Regions from separate parts of the Homo sapiens genome. Here all the other regions are linked to region 2. Evidence: promoter capture Hi-C in 16 types of primary human blood cells and fetal thymus (Javierre and others, 2016). All regions are on one chromosome and are shown on one strand. Each heading gives the region's core, a stretch centred on a gene start or on the middle of the fragment in contact. The rest is flanking DNA. Distances are from core to core; before and after follow the strand shown. Region 1 overlaps NABP1 (nucleic acid binding protein 1). Region 2 holds the start of LINC01827 (long intergenic non-protein coding RNA 1827). Region 3 has its middle 15 kb from the start of NABP1.

Region 1 (3,931 bases), core at 1,220-3,719, 3.9 Mb after region 2:
TCTGCAAAGATAATCATTTAGGGTTAAGAGTGGTTTCTAGGCAATAAATAATAACAACAGGCTACATAGCCACCAGTTTATCCAAGTGCTTCCTGTAAGTTGACCATATAATGTGTACTAACATTACAAAGAAGCATTTTATTACTCCTCACCATACTGAAGACAAATCAGAACCAGTTTTGGTAAATCCTCGACTGACCCTGACAAAGAGCAGTCATTAAGAAATGAGTGACCTCTAACGGTTTTTCACGTAACTGACCTCCATTATTATCAACACCTCTGTATGAATACATGAAGGTCAGGACAGAATCCTGAACCTTTCAGTAACAGACACTAAGACCTTTCATAACACATAACTCTATTAATGCTACTCTAAGTGAATCCTAACTTCCCTTCTAACAAAGGCAAAGCGTTAAGTGTTTCTGATCTTTAAAAGCTAGCATGATCATTTCTTTTCCTTCATTATTAACCACAGGTTCTCCAAATAAGCATCTTATTCCCTCAGTGGCAAACAGTTTTCCTTTTTTATCTGGTGCCATTTGTGGCTTCTCTTTTTAAATATCTTCCAATTTGACAGGCATTAAGTAGATGGCAGAGCATTAACCAAACAGAATGGACTGATGATTTGGCTCATTGCCTGTACCATACTTTATGAATACAACCCAATGTCTAGGCTAACATGGAGGCTGAATTACCTTACACCCCTAGAGAGGATGGCTCCTCCAGGTCAGGGTGGAGATCATTACCAGGGTAGTAGTGTATGGAATCTCGCATTGCGGCTGCCTGCACCGCACCTAGACTGTGGATAAATAGAGGACTTCAGTTTTCGTTGCTGCAAGTCCTTTTTAACATGAGTACATATTCACCCATAACCATAGAAAAAGAAAATTTAAACTTATGGCCTGAAACTTGGTGAATCACTAGCTTCGTATATGGTGAATCACTACAAAAGAGAATCTACTTCAAATGGCTCTTGTGACACCTAAAAAATGCACATTTCTAAAACCTACAGAAATGCTTCCACTAGGGCTGGTCTCAACTGCAGCTTCTTCTACTGCTCTTTGCCAGGAAAAATTGACACTTTTAACCACAGAAAACAGTACTGACAAGTGTTAAATTTGTATACACGAAGTTATTTTTTCAATTAAGCTACCAAAGACATTCAGTTTACTAGTCAAAAAAGCCAAAGAGGTTTACAATTCATACCTACCAATCATTCCGTAGATATTATTTATAATATATGCAATTATACAAAATGCATTTTAATACTTACTCCCCAATTTTTTGAAGTTCACCACCCCTTCCAGTATAAAGTGTCAGACATCCTTTCCACATGGATGCATACCTAGAGAGAAAAGAAACATTAATTCTTTAGAAATATATTTATTTTCTTCTATTTAAATCAAGTAAATCTTCACACTATATATTTTTTGTATTAAGGTAGAAGTGAGGATCAAGCCCTCTCTATCCACCATAGTAAATCAAATACAATAAATCTAACTTTGATAACTTGCTATTTACAAAAGAATACAAAAATTCTGTCGAATTTTGACATAATTATCTAAATCATAACAAATTCTGGAAAATAAGTCTTTTCGCAAAGCCAGTATTATTATACCCAATGATCACATCTTTAGTCAATTAACAAAACAAAAGCTTTTAATTGCAGAAATTTAAACAGAAACTATTTTTCAGCCACAAGATATGTAAAATCATCCTAATGTTTCATTTACAGTCTAGTCAAATAATGATATAACAGTTTTCCTTCTGCCTCCATAAAAGACACAGGATTCCTAAGCTACCGAAGATCTGGTAGAATTTCAAAGTGCTAAAAAAAACACTAAGGTCACAAAGCTTCACCTATCTGCCTTTCCAAACATGTGATTTTTAATACCATGCTGGGTTTGTAGTAAACAAACTGGCAAATGTTTACTCCGAACAATTTTGAAAGCAGACAGCATCACTACATAAAATAATCCTAGATATCTAAGAAAAAGGTAAATTAATATTATAAAATCAATCCAAGGTTTGGTTCTCAATGGTTCTCTGTACAACTACTATGGTAACTTCATGACTTTAACTTACTATACAGTTCTCTTTACTTTAATTAAAGGGTTATTTATTAAAGACACCATTCACCACTCTTAAGTTATACAAAGAGTGGCTTAGGATACAGTGCATTAACATTTCACCTTACTAAAATAAAAATTAACCCATATTTTGAGAAAAAATTTGGTTACAATTAAAATATTTAACATTCACTTTAAGAAATGAGAACACTGAGGTAAGTTTTCAGGGTATTCTGATAAACATGTTGATATTTGAACCATTATTTAGATGTTAGGTATGTTTTTCTTCAAAAGCTACTTTTCTTAGATTCAACCAGAATTTAAGGGCCTTAGAATGAGCCAGACTCCAAGCTGAGTGTGTTGTTTTGGTAAATAAGGTATAATTATTCCCATTTCACAGAAGAGGAAGCTGAAGTATGAGGTGTAGTAACTTCTCAAGGTCATACTGAAGTAGTAAATAGAGTTTCTATAGTTTTTAATTTTCGTTTAAATTGTACTCCCAGGTAATTGTTCCCCTTAAAATTCTATAGTACCTAACTAATAAGTTTAATTTTCCAATAATTTTTTTGATGGAAACACCTATGACTGTCACTACAGAACATGAAATACTTGAAATAAGATGCCGTTTTTAGCGTAAAAAATACTTTCAATCATTGGGTGAAAAATATTTGGGGAGCCAAAAACTCCAATTATACTAATCAATCCTCACCATACTTCCCTAAGAAGGAATTCTCTTTTGTTTTTTAAAGATGTGGAAGTTTAAATTACTGTCATGAGTCAGTGTATGAGAAGAAAATGTCTAAGTCCTGACTCTCACTTCCTGCTTTGATGACACTTTACCTCACTTCCTGAAGATGTTGTAAGCCTGCAAGGTAACACCAAGGAGCTCTAAGCTCCTACTCTCAGTGCTTTCCAATACTTCTAAGATTCTACTTATTAGGCCAACATCAATCTCCACCACTTTCCCTGCAGTTAATGATAAATTATTACAATTTTATTGATCTCAAAAGCTTCCAAATTCTGTTTTTAAGATCCTTTTCTGCCCTTTTATCTTCCTAAGATAAAAATTTGGTAAATTTCTAAAAGCAATCTATTTTTTAAAAAAAAAGTTCTAGTATTTTTTAAAGCCACCTATCCGCCAACTGACTCTTTTGGATGAAGGTATTGTAGATGCCTTTCTGCCAAACATTTTCTGTGTATCCCTTTGGTTTTTGCGCAACATCCACCTTACAGCAGAAGACACAAGAAATCATTTTGGAGAATGAGCCTTCCAGATACTGTAAAGTTTCCCTCTTTTTCCAAGTACAAATTTGACATATCACAGAATATGCTAAATCCTTTACCTATAATTTTCATTTATGTCCACATTTCTAAATAACATATGTAAAATACTGGCCAGGATTTCAAGTCATTAAAAATGGAGAAGGGGTGGGAAACAACTGAGTGGCAACTACACTAGAGAAAACAACTTATAAAAAAGAAAAAATATGGACTATACCAGTCTCCTAAAAAGACTCACTGACTCAGAATAGAACTAAAAATCTATGCCGGGCGTGGTGGCTCACGCCTGTAATCCCAGCACTTTGGGAGGTTGGGGCGCGCGGATCACTTGAGGTCAGGAGTTGGAGACCAGCCTGGGCAACACTCTGAAACCCCGTCTCTGCTAAAAATACAAAACTTAGCTGGGCGTGGTGGCACACGCCTGTAGTCCCAGCTACTTGGGAGGCTGAGGCACGAGAATCTCTTGAACCCGCGAGGCGGAGGCTGCAGTGAGGAGAGATCACGCCACTGCACTCCAGCTTGGCGACAGAGCGAGACTCGGTCCCAAAAAATAATAATAATTAAAAATCTACTTAACCTGT
Region 2 (3,871 bases), core at 1,303-3,802:
AATAATTAATTTTATCATCCATTGTTATTTACAAATTCTCAGGTCACTAAGTCATAATTATAACTTGGGAAAATGTGTCCTATTTTATTGATAGCACAGAAATTAGAATTTATTCTTCAGCACCATAAGGTTTATGGGAACACAACAAATAAAAATGGTCACAATTATTTGTCATGTCTGGAAAAGTACAAGACTGTGACTACTAATTCATAACACATTTATATCAGTTTTACTTACTTATGGCTATTATATTTCCTTTGTGAATTTCACAGGTTTATGAAAGCATTAACTGATCTTTTTATATTACTCTATCTTCATGGCTTATCCACAGCTTGATTTCAACTGGCCATGCTTAGATAAAGCAAATTTCCATATATATTTTTTTCTACCTTCATGCCTAGGTAGAGATCCTAGATATGTTGAGCTTTATTTTATTTCTGCAAATGTAAGTAAACATTTGTACATGTGACTTGGAGGAAAATTAGAGGAAGAATTTATTTATTGTTCATTTAAGACTGATAATTATTGGGTTCATGTACTAGGAAGTTATACTAAGAAAAAGACTCTCAAAGAAGACACAAATTTTACAAAGCCATACTCATAAAACATATAAAGATGATGACATATCCAGGATCAGATTTAGATCCTCTAGATCCATCCCAAAGAAGAAAATACCAAAAAATAGCCCAAGCTGTAACTTTACCAATTTAGTTACTGCTGTCAAGAAACATTGCACAATGCCATCTAGTGACGAGTAACCAATGTATGATTAATCACATAGAAATGACTGGATGAGGAGGGGGAAATTCCCAGGATTTTATATGTAAGAGGGAAAGTCCTTCTGAGAGAATTAAAATGGATAGAGATTAGTTTTATTTCTCCAGGTACACTTAGTGCATGACAATTTATCACCGATCTGAAGCTTGGTAGTTTTTATTTTGAAATACTGTATTGCCACCTACCTCTGAATCTGCAGCTCTACCTCCTTCTGCAGCTGCCCTTCATTATTCCGTCCACAGCTGAACTCAGAACTGTGAGTGTTCTCCAAGCCGCAGCCCCCCATCTAATGACAGGTGGTGGAGGTGGAGCACTTTAGAAACCAGTCTCAACAAATTAAAAAAAAAAAAGGACTTCAAAAAAGGGAACCAAGTTGATTCTTAAAACAATCTGTGCCACATTAAAAATAATAACAATAAATAAACTTGGAAGTTCAAAGAGTAAAACTAAAACAGGGACTAAAGGAAATCATCTTTGTTTTTTGCAGCCAATGACTGTGCAGACCTGATGCTGTCTTGTTCTTGTACCAAATTCTCCTTGAAAATACCAGAGACCTCTCTCTGAATGGCCATAACATTATACCCTAAGGGAAATAATTTTCTCCAACATTTCTCATCTTTTGTAAACAGATGGCATATATATATTTAATATATATATTTATAGATATATTTATAGATATTTATATATATTTATAGATATATTTATATATATATTTAAAGAGAAAGAGAAATACCAACAGTCTGCCAACTGTGGAATTCTTATAGTCCGATAGTTTCTTTTTGGTTATTTTTTCACAACTAAATTAACTAGTGTTGCTGCCATAGATACATTTAAGAAAATCAGACACTTTGCTGCTTTTACATATATCTGTCTGAAACTCAGCAGGAATATTTCAGTTGCCTTAGAAAAATATCCAGTTAACAAACTTTGTGAAGTGAAAAGAAAACCTTATCAAAATCTCCAGCTTCAAGTACATTTAGTTGTTTTCTTTTTATTGTTGCTTACATGCTGTGATTGGAGCACAATATGTGGAAATTGCATAACCATTATTTCCACAAATCAAAGCTATTGAGACATGGGAAGGCCATGTGGAGCTGCTGCATGAAATGTTGGTTAAAAAAATTCCACTCTGCCTTTATATCTAAAGTCTTCCCTTCTTTCAGGTATCAATGGTTTCTTCAGTCGTAAGCATCACTAGGTTGTGTTTCGTTTGTTTAACTGCTTTTAAAATCAGAATTAGCCATAGGTCAAATAACATTTTTTGAAAAACATTTTCTCTATGTGTCTTATATTTTTCCTTAGTTCTACTTTGTTTTGTTATTTTTAATATTTTGGGGGTAATCTAGGCAAAGAGCTCTTAATTCTTAATGCATTAGAACCATCAAGAAACATTCAGTGCAATTTCCATGTCTCAGGGGAAAGTTTTGGTGTCCTCACCTCGATCCATTCCCAGGTTTATGGGGACTAGGGAGAATCCTTTCACTATTATTTTACATTTTAAAATATACCTAATCAAGTGCAGTGCAGTGCAGTGGTGTATGCCTGTGGTCCCAGCTGCTCGGGAAGCTCAGGAGAGAGCATCACTGGAACCCAGGAGTTTCAGTCCAGCCTGGGCAACACAGCAAGATCCCATCTCTAAAAAAAGAAAAGAAAGAAAAGAAAACAGTGGCCAGTCAGATGGCTATGTAGGTCAAAGACAGCCTGACTGAATCATATGAGAGGGAAGAAAAACACTTGTCATTCCTAGCTTTCTGTGTTCCTCTTTTGTTCCAGCAGAGCTTTGGTTGTACTACTCTAATACCCATACAACACTGCTTTCCTTAGAGCCACAGCTACTGCTGAGAACTCAAAAACTTCTTCCTTTCCGGTGAACACGTCTAGACTTGGGCTGGGGATGGGATGAAGATCTCTAACACCTTCCTGGAAATCAAGAAGTGCAAATAGGTAATTTTCCCTTTTTTTTTTTGAGATGGAGTCTCACTCTGTCGCCCAGGCTGGAGTGCAGTGGTGCAATCCGGCTCACTGCAATTCTCCCTGCTTCAGCCTCCTGAGTAGCTGGGATTACAGGTGCCCGCCACCACACCCAGCTATTTTTTTTAGTTTTAGTAGAGACGGGGTTTCACCGCATTGGGCAGGCTGGTCTCGAACCCCTCACCTCAGGTAGATCCGCCTGCCTCGTCCTCCCAAAGTGCTGAGATTACAGGTGTGAGCCACCGTGCCCAGCCTGGTAATTTTCTTAAGAGAGAAATAATGCTTTGTTTTGAGATGTTCTGCTGGGGTATTCTGGTAGCTCTTTCAGTGCTTAAACTCATTCCGAGTCTGCACAAATGGCATAATATTTAGCTGTGCTTTGACACTCTTCAGCACCTGGAATATAATGAGCATAAATATCTTTTTAGGTTTCTAGATCAAAGATTGTTTTCTTCTATAATGTTTCTCCTCAAAGAAGTGTTTCACTGTTCTGTAAAGTAAATTTCAGAGATTATAAGGCCAAAATAGCGATTATAGCAAAAGTCTATGATCAGTTACATTGTCTAATTTTGAATTACAGTGGCAGCTTTTCTTTTATCTTTAAATTTGGTGCCATTTCTTCCTATCATTTCCACCCCTGGGATTTTTCTGGTTAGAGATGTATATAATTGCCTTTCTGCCCACATTCCCTTCTAAAAGAATCTGTTCCCCTGCTGAACAGATGGGCCTAGTCATCTATGTTTATATCATATGACCCTACTCCCTGGTTATGATGATTGGACCAGGGTGGGGAGACCTACTCTGAGAGTCGATCCATAGGTTAGGCCAAGCCAACTAGATGATATTGTTTGAAAAAATTTCACTGAGACACAAAAGTCATAGTTAAGTGATGAGAATTGGAGTTGTCGGGTCACAGGTATTTAGTGTGAGACCTCTATGGCAAGCTTCAGCTACATGAACATTAAATTATGAGGGAACCCAAAGTAAAATCCTTACATGTGGAGCCAGCCTACAAGAGCAACCTAGAATAGACATGCAGAGAGAAGCAGTAGCAAGAGCTTACACTGACATTTGTAAAATCCCTTCTCACCATCCAGAGCCTTTTCTACTTTAAACAAACAGT
Region 3 (3,651 bases), core at 858-3,357, 3.9 Mb after region 2:
AGTACTAACTTAAAGTGAGAGAAAACCCCAATTGGCTGGGCATAAATAGAAGTTTATTTCTGGCTCTTGTTAAAGTACAGAGGTAGATTCTAGGGGTTTGGTATTGGCCTCCACATTATCAAGCCTATTCTATCTTGTAGCTCCATTGACTGTACTTTCCATTTCCAAGGTTGCCTCATTATTCAAAATGGCTGCCAAGACTCCAAGCATCATACATCCCATTTCACTCAATAGAAAGGAAAAAGGTAAGGGAAAAGAGAGCCCACTCTAATTTGGGATGTTTCCTGAAAGTTGCACACCCAACTTCTTCATATCCCATTGGCTTGCATTTACTCATGTATACACACCTATCATCAAGGGGGATCAGGAAGGTGGCTTTCTGGTGGCTGTGTCCCCAGCCAAAAATCAGTGGTTCTATTACTATGGAAAAAAGAGTAGATAAGAATGAAGATATGAAGGAGGTGAGGGAACAAATCACGTAGATATCTGTGAAAAGAAAGCACAGGCAGAGGGAAATGCAAACACAAAGTTTCAAAGCAGGAGCATTCTTGGAAAGTTTGAGGAACAACAAGGAATCCAGCATAATTAGAATGAGAAGAGGGGTATCAGATGAGAATGAAGAGATAGCCAGGGATCAAGCTTAGTAAAGGCCAGGTAATGTGCTGTGAATAAGATATTCTAAGAATCCCAAAGCAAAGCTGTGTAGGGGTCCTCAAGACCACCTACCAGGTTCAATGATTTGCTAGGAGGACTCACAGGACTCAACATATAGTCCTACTTATAGCCGTGACAGTGACAGGATACAGAGCAAATTCAGCAAAGGGAAAGGCATATAAGGCAAAGTCTGAAGAAACCAGTTGCAAGCCTCTAAGGGTCCTCTCCTAGTGGAGTCACACAAGAGGCACTTTAACAGACATGAACAGACACTTCTCAAAAGAAGACATTTATGCAGCCAAAAAACACATGAAAAAATGCTCACCATCACTGGCCATCAGAGAAATGCAAATCAAAACCACAATGAGATATCATCTCACACCAGTTAGAATGGCGATCATTAAAAAGTCAGGAAACAACAGGTGCTGGAGAGGATGTGGAGAAATAGGAACACTTTTACACTGTTGGTGGGACTGTAAACTAGTTCAACCATTGTGGAAGTCAGTGTGGCGATTCCTCAGGGATCTAGAACTAGAAATACCATTTGACCCAGCCATCCCATTACTGGGTATATACCCAAAGGACTATAAATCATGCTGCTATAACGACACATGCACACATGTTTATTGCGGCACTATTTACAATAGCAGACTTGGAACCAACCCAAATGTCCAACAATGATAGACTGGATTAAGAAAATGTGGCACATATACACCATGGAATACTATGCAGCCATAAAAAATGATGAGTTCATGTCCTTTGTAGGGACATGGATGAAGTTGGAAATCATCATTCTCAGTAAACTATCGCAAGAACAAAAAACCAAACACTGCATATTCTCACTCATAGGTGGGAATTGAACAATGAGAACACATGGACACAGGAAGGGGAACATCACACTCTGGGGACTGTTGTGGGGTGGGGGGAGGGGGGAGGGATAGCATTGGGAGATATACCTAATGCTAGATGACGAGTTAGTGGGTGCAGCGCACCAGCATGTCATATGTATACATATGTAACTAACCTGCACATTGTGCACATGTACCCTAAAACTTAAAGTAGAATAATAATAATAATAAAAAGAGGCACTTTAGTCCTCTACATCAAGTGTGGCAACCAGTATGAAATACTGCCTACCAGGGAAGCTCAAGGTTTTTATTGAGGGCTTGTCACAGAGGCACCCTTTTCCTGGCATATACCAAAGCCCTGACTGCCAGAAGGAAAGCATGGTGGTGAGCATAAACTATGCTGTTTATACTAACAGTTTAGACACAGTGGGCCACTCTTATCATTTAGGGAATGGCCAGAACCCTGCTGAAACCTACATTTCCAGATACCCATCAATAGCCAACCTTGCAAGGAGATTTCTAGGAATAGCAGTCTTGGGCCTATTGCTAATTCTTTCCTGAACAAAAGTACACAGGGAGGGAGGCACAAAGCAAAGTGGAGTAGGAATCAGGAAACTAAGCAGAGACTAACCAGGCTCATAAGTTAGTAGATGCAATGAGTAAATAGAAACCATGAACCAGATAAACTGAGACAGAGAGAGTACAATAGTAACAGAAGGAGGAAGAAGCAAGGAGAGAAGTCAGTGGGACGACAACCCCTATTATTGCTGTTAGGATATCAGAGTTGCTATTAATATATGATTCTGGAGATCAATGAACAATGCTTCAGCTTCACATGAGGCCTGATTATTCCATTAAAATGTTTCCTATACTTGCTTCCTAATGTACTCATATCCTTAGAATAAGTTGAAATCACCGAAAGTCAGAGGCATATTTGTGCTCCTTGAAACCTAAAAACACTTCACTAATACACCTAGGGTTTTAGCCATTGAAATATAGATGTTATAGAGAAAAACTAGAATTGTAGCCAAAGGATCACTGGCCAACTGGATAAAGGACCAAGATTTATAGTATGGCATAAAACCTCCCCTCACCCCACTCCATAAAGCCCCTGCTCCAGCTACATCAAACTACTCACAAGTACATTCAAAGTGCACTTCTATGCTTCTTTGATTTTGATCATGTAGTTTACCCTGTTTAGAATTCTTGGCCTTGTCATTCTCAAAAAACTCTGAAGAGCTTCTTTACCCAGCTCGAGTCATTTGCATTCTCGATGAAGCCTCTCTGACCATTTCTTCCCCATACAGTCTTGTCTAGCCCCTTTAGAATGAATCTTTATTTCTGGACTACTCTCAGTTCTTGGTACATATTTCTATAGTAGCACATATAAAACATATTGTAATTGACAATTTATGTGTCTGTCTCAGAATAAATTATGTTCCTAGCACTTAGCATAGTGCTTCACAAGTGGTAAGTCTTTACTAAATGTGTATCAAGGAAATGAATGGATGAACGAACCAAGAAACAAATCCAATGAATCACATATTGAAGAGTTATGACACCAGGAATCAAGGACAAGGCTCCATGACCAAGACACCCAATTTTCAATTCTCATGCTTGAGACAATAATATCTCTCATCTATTGGGGTACTTTTTATTTCTCCAAATTATATTGCTTTTGTACACCCTAGTTCTTTGAAGATACCGTTACTTTACTCATGTTAAATAGCTGTGTTAGCATTGATTATAACAATTTCCCTAGTGAGGAAGCAAATTATTTTCTTAAAAATTATGGCAGAACTTAAATATCCCCCAACTTAAAAAGTCTGATGCTAAATATATTTAACTCTATAGTGTCTAAGTATGTTTATACAAGTAAGTAAACACACACAATTATTCTCCTGCTGTGAAAGTACTTTCTACCTCTAGTGGCTTACATGTGTATGCATATTTTTAAGTTAAACTTTTCAAAGGGGAAATATTTCAAGTAATATTGATTTCACAACCCACTACTATGACACTGAAAGTGAATTCCCCAAGCAATTTTATAATAAAACCAATTCTAAAAGCTTAGACATGGTCATGGCAAACATCAAATAAAATCTAAATTTGTTACTATTTCCATGTGATTTCTTTTGAGTAGTGACCC

Evidence for each region. The method cuts DNA at HindIII sites, captures the fragments that hold promoters and counts their contacts. A CHiCAGO score of 5 or more calls a contact.
Region 1: a contact is called between a fragment that was not itself captured here and the fragment with the promoter of LINC01827 in region 2, in 2 of 17 cell types (non-activated CD4 T cells and M2 macrophages). The highest score is 5.2, in non-activated CD4 T cells.
Region 3: a fragment that was not itself captured here is called in contact with the fragment with the promoter of LINC01827 in region 2 in 1 of 17 cell types (M0 macrophages); the score reaches 6.6 in M0 macrophages.

The regions. Positions count from the first base shown.
Region 1 is chr2:191,679,360-191,683,290 of GRCh38, reverse strand. NABP1 (nucleic acid binding protein 1) reads right to left here. Exons shown (of 6, transcript NM_001031716.5): 3 at 1,274-1,345. Among named protein-coding and RNA genes, the nearest start is that of NABP1, 3.2 kb to the right of the region's middle. RefSeq lists an enhancer at 2,785-3,931. The HindIII fragment of the contact is 1,225 bases long and covers 1,857-3,081 here.
Region 2 is chr2:195,573,174-195,577,044 of GRCh38, reverse strand. LINC01827 (long intergenic non-protein coding RNA 1827) reads left to right here and starts at 2,552. Exons shown (of 2, transcript NR_187191.1): 1 at 2,552-2,721. The HindIII fragment of the contact is 2,770 bases long and covers 925-3,694 here.
Region 3 is chr2:191,661,567-191,665,217 of GRCh38, reverse strand. No RefSeq gene overlaps it. Among named protein-coding and RNA genes, the nearest start is that of NABP1, 15 kb to the left of the region's middle. The HindIII fragment of the contact is 2,932 bases long and covers 642-3,573 here.